Regions from separate parts of the Homo sapiens genome. Here region 1 is linked to region 2. The links are contacts of gene promoters, found by promoter capture Hi-C in human tissues and cell types (Jung and others, 2019). All regions are on one chromosome and are shown on one strand. The core of a region is centred on a gene start or on the middle of the fragment in contact, and the rest is flanking DNA. Distances in the headings are between cores, read along the strand shown. Region 1 has its middle 66 kb from the start of NRBF2. Region 2 holds the start of RTKN2 (rhotekin 2).

What was found. Contacts are between HindIII fragments. The study calls those that stand out against the background at their distance.
Region 1: a fragment that was not itself captured here is called in contact with the fragment with the promoter of RTKN2 in region 2 in 2 of the 25 tissues and cell types used here (IMR-90 fibroblasts and spleen).

The regions. Positions count from the first base shown.
Region 1 is chr10:63,066,108-63,068,807 of GRCh38, reverse strand. No RefSeq gene overlaps it. Among named protein-coding and RNA genes, the nearest start is that of NRBF2, 66 kb to the left of the region's middle. The HindIII fragment of the contact is 7,418 bases long and covers 1-2,700 here.
Region 2 is chr10:62,267,552-62,270,251 of GRCh38, reverse strand. RTKN2 (rhotekin 2) reads left to right here and starts at 1,408. Exons shown (of 12, transcript NM_145307.4): 1 at 1,408-1,701. The coding sequence starts at 1,642. The region is part of intron 1 of LINC02621 (long intergenic non-protein coding RNA 2621); the gene reads right to left. RefSeq lists a silencer at 1,327-1,656. The HindIII fragment of the contact is 3,580 bases long and covers 818-2,700 here.

The DNA.
Region 1 (2,700 bases), core at 193-2,692, 800 kb before region 2:
CTCATGCCTGTAATCCCAGCACTTTGGGAGGCCGAGGCAGGTGGATTACATGAGGTCAGGAGTTTGAGACCAGCCTGGCCAACATGGTGAAACCCTGTCTCTACTAAAAACACAAAAATTAGCCAGACATGGTGGCACACACCTGTAATCCCAGCTACTCAGGAGACTGAGGGAGGAGAATCTCTTGAACCCAGGGGATGGAGTGATCTCAGCATTGAGCTGAGATCGCATCACTGCGCTCCAGCCTGGGCGACAGAGCAAGACTCTGCCTCAAGAATAAAAACAAAAACAAAAGCAAACAACAAACCACATAACGTAACATTTACTCTCATAACCGTTTTTAAACTGTGCAGTTCAGCAGTGGGAGGTATATTCACATTGTTTCGCAACAAACCTCCAGAACTTTTTCATCATGCAAAACTGAAACTCTATACCCATTGAACAACACCTCCCATTTCCTCCTCCCCCAGCCCCTGGCAACCACATTCCATTTTCTTCTGTTTCTAGAAATTTGACTATTTTAGATGCCTCGTATAAATGGAATAACAATAGCTTTTAGGTAAAAACCATGATAGGAAAAACAAACCCCCATAGATAATGAATGGGCCCCTCTATCACTGCAAATAAAATTTTTGAAACCAAGAAAGGGAATTATGAGATCTGTGACATCAATAGACTTGATGGATCTCACATCTCCTCTGGTGGCCGTAAAGCAATTAAAAAACACAACTGTGGAAGTTGAGATACTTATATTTCCTCATAAAATTCACTTCTTGTGCTTAATCTGTTACTCTCAGTAGTGAAGTTTCAGAATCATCAATATGACAGTACAGCAATATTGCCTCATCAGTCATGATTTACTTAATGTTTTCTGAATTTAGTAATATTTGATTAAAATTTAATGCGAACATATCATATCATGCCATATATATTATTGCATCCATTAATCAGGTAACTATAGTAATGAAATGCCGGAAGGTTGGCTGAAAAAGGAGCCAGTCTTGATATATGTTTGACATAATTCTGTGAGTGATTAACCAAAAAAAAAAAGTCAGTCATTCAAAGGTTCATTAATATATATTACTTTTACAATCATCTATGTGTCATCAGATATTTTTAACCTTTGTTAAGCTTGATTTTTAATTTACTGAAAGACACTAAATATTAATAACCATGAAAAATATACATTATTCTGTTGAATCACAAGTTGACAGAATGATTCATAGTTTATTCTAATCTTTTTTGTATAATGATGTGTATTAAAACATTATCTAAGTTATTTAATCAGTTTGTCATGTGGGAAATAGCATATATTTAACATATGGCTGTGAAAGATACTAATTTAAATACCACATCATATTTCTATTATTTTCAACTTCCATGTCATTGGCCATAGCAGGTAATCAGTGTGATGGTGCACAATTTACGTCTGACACAGGCTGATTTTTGTATGCAAATGTTCTTTTTTTCCTATTAAAACACTGAATTAGTCATACCTTGTTTCTTTTAATATTGTCATTTTAATCAGCTAACTAATGAGGGACAACTGGTATTAAACACTTATCTGCCGTGTTCATCAAAATAGTTAAGAAGAGGCACATTTGGAGAAATAATTGAAAATAATAAAAAGTTGAGTCAACTGCAAGGCAGTTTAATTTTGACTTGATAGAGGAATGTTGATTATTTCACCACAATTATCCTCCTAGTTGTTCCCTCTTTTAGCTTCAGTTGAATTGTGCTTCATTCACTCATTCATTCATTAAATTTTTCATTGAACCCTTCTCATGACAGGCATTGTGCTAGGTTCTGGGATAGAGAAATGAAATGACATGGCTCCTGGTTTCTCTTAGCTTACAATCTAGTGATGATCAGACGCTTACACAAATGCAAGCAGAGATGAGCTCCAACATGGAGTCTGGGCAAAGCACAGTGAGGCACAGAGAGGAGTGTCAAAGTCAGCCTGAGAGTGACTGGAAAGACTCCGCAGGGGCTGACGCTGACTTGAATGGAGACTCGAAGTGTGAATAACAGTTTCCCAGACAGACAACTATGGAGGTGGGAGTATTGGTGACAGGTGAGGATGGTATTCTAGAAAGAACCAACAGCATATGCAAAGGCTCAGAGGCTTATAAAGCAAGTTCCGGAAGAAGAGAAATTCACTCCTATCTCTATCTAGTGGATATGTACTAAAAAGTGTGGTGTGATAGAGATGTCAAGATTGCCTCAGGGTGCTGCATGCTGAACTATGACTTCACTCCAAGCCCAAGGGTAAGGCTGTTGATGTTTGACCTGCCATGGAGAGGAGTGGTTTTCTAACTGGAGGCTTATAGGAGAAGACAAGGATGGGGAGAACGGGTCGGGGTGATGCACAGGTGGCTCCTACTGTAACAAATGCCTGAACCATGCCTTGGAGAATTATATCTTCTTGTCAAACACTCCCCAGAACTAACCAAAAATAATTAGCTTCAATTTTTCCCATAAATTTTCAAACATAATATTGTAGACTGAATCAGGAAGCCTAGGTATACCGTACTTTGAAGCTATATTCATATTAGTGGGGAAAGCATCATAAGAAAGTAGACATTAAGAAGGGATTTGAAGAAAACGGGCAATTGGACTCAGGGTGTTGGAAATGGAATAATTTCTATGATAAGATTGTTGCAGGATTTGAAGGTAATGAAGTTAGGACAAAAGGAAAGT
Region 2 (2,700 bases), core at 159-2,658:
GCAACTGAGAGCTGTATGTGTTGTAAGTACTATGTGTCTGATGATGGGCTCGCGGTGTGTTTTTCTTTTGAGTCAGGTACTACAGCTAGGCTCATGCAGCCTCATACTGAGTAGGAGATAATTATACCACAAAGTGGTAGCATAAGACAGAGATGTGCATTGGAGGAAAGGGCACATAATGATTCTGAAATTCAGACCTGTGTTTGTAGAAAACGAGGTGAGCTCCGTGTTGATAATTTTGAACACATATTTTATTGTTGTAAGGATATGGGTCATTCATAATGCAAGGGGACCATCATTCCCAACTGGGAAGCTTCTAGTATCACCTAGTCCAAAAGGTCTTAAAGAGGCATTTTACCTATTTGAGGAAGGGTATCCATTATATTTTTAAAGTACATTCTCAAACCAACTGCTTTTAAAAGGGTCTTGCAGTTAAAATGACCACATAATATCCACTACGGGATAAGTGCAAGATTGGTGCAACATTGGGACAACAGACCCAGACAGGGTCTGTCCCAGGCAAATGAAAAAACATGGGCACCTATTTATGGAGGAAAAATGCCCAAGGGTTTCTAGGCGATGAGGGCTGGAGGGTTGATTTGGTAGACTCTTCAAGAAGAGGCTTCCTCTTGCCTTTTCAAGGGGGAAATAAAGATAAACTAGGGACAATGAATTTTAAGGACTTTTCAAGGGTGTGATATCTTTGCTGCTTTCATTTTGATTTTTAAAAATCCCATGTTTCCCTTTATAATTAACAAAATCCATGAATTAAAATGGGTCTTTGTGCTAATCTTTAGGGCAGCAAGAAATGAGGCTCTTGAGAAATAGTACCCCATTTTGCTATCACCTTAGATGTTGGAGAGGGAAAGAGAGGGCGAGAGAGCTGAAAGAAATCCTTCGCAAGAAAACAAAGTAAGTGGACAGAGTAGTTGGCGGGGAACATCTGGGATTATAAACACTGGGGGCAAAGACAAGACCTTGTGAAATGCCTGACATAGTATCTCACGAACCTGATGAATAAAACCATGATATCTGGGTGACCCTGGTGACAACGCTGGGAAAGGTGAGAGGAAACAGAGAGCGCTGTGTTTGAGAGTAATGTTATTGGTTCTTTAGGAACGAGACCGTGGGCTCTTAGTGACGCTGTGGGTTCCTGAGTTGTCTGGGAGTACAGGGACTGCAGCCTCGAGTCTGTCCAGCTACGATCACTTTGGAAGGCCTTCGGTGGGATGCGGGCAGAAAGCTCCCAGTGCAAAGGGCGTGCCACGAAAACCACCAGCCAGAAACCTGAGCTGGGACAGGTGCGCTCCGCCGCCGAAGCTTTCCCCGCGGCCCCTCCCACTCCCGTCCCAGGCCCGCCCACATCCCTGTCCGGGACTTAAGTCCGGCACCGCCGCCCTCTCCCCCGCCCCGCCGCGCTAGAGCCTGGGGTCTCGGCAACTTCCGGCGGCGGGAGCTGCAGAGCGCAAGGCGCGCCCACTGCGCGTGCGCTTCGGCCCGGCTCCTCCTGCGCCCCCGGCCCCTGCGACTGGGACTTGGTACGGCCGGGCGGTTGGCGTCCTCTGCGGCTCCTGCCAGGGGCGGGCTTTTCAAATCTTCCCTTTGAAGGAGTGGCGACGGCCCGGACAGTTCGCGTTGGAGATGGAGGGGCCGAGCCTGAGGGGTCCTGCGCTCCGCCTGGCGGGGCTTCCCACCCAGCAGGTGAGTTGCGGGAGGGACCCTGCCGCGGAAGGTGAGGGAGCCGGGGTTCTGTTCCTCGCGCATTTGCTTTGTGGAGGAGTCGGGAAAGCCTCTCCCCCGCTCCTCTATTTCAGCGGTGGCCAGAAACAAAGGGAGGGATTAGGAGACTGCGCTCTTGGGGCTCTAAAGGGCCTGGACATCGGAACCCCCGAGTTTCTCAGGCAGCTGAGGTCCGGATTGGGAAGGCGGTGCCGGGGTCCAGGCGCGCGTTTGCGGGCGCACCTGTCCGCTGCCCTCCCCAGGCTTTGGACGCCTGTCTTTTTGCAGGTGTAGGTGATGCCGGGGAAATGGGAGCCCCTCGATTCCCAAGAAACCCAGCGAGGCCAGTGGACAGCTGGCTTATTACGGATTTAATGGGAAGCACAGTAATGGAGCGATGTCTACACACAACACAGAACTGGTTGGGGGGAGGGGGTTCGGAGCGGAGTAGAGGCAAACAGCAACCTCTGCACTTTAGAAAAAGTTGAAGGTTTGATACTGGGTTCTTTCTCAAATCATTTGAAAGGAAAGAGGGAGTACACGTGACATTGGATAGAAGTTTGATGTTTGCTTTTGAGCCATGTAAAATGCGTTAGAAACCTTTTTATTTTACTTTTTACTAAACCAACATTATTTCTTGGCAGCATCAGTTATTAAAATGTTACCACTTTTCACTCTTAACCATAACTTTAGGGTCTTAAAAGAAAACTCTGATGTCTTTAAGCTGGACCTTCACTTCTATTTTAATCTCTACCTTCTTTTACCTACTTCAGAAATAGGTTAAGCCATATGAAATTGCCAGTTTTGTAGGTCAAAATTGGTAGAATATTTGCAATTTCATTCATATGGAGGCACCTGATATCTTTGTTTAAAAATCTGGGATTTCCTTAGCAGACACAAAATTATTAGTTTTCAATAATACTGTGAAAAATAAAGCAAGACATTAAGATTCATTATGCAAAAGAAGTCCAGTGTCTTTAT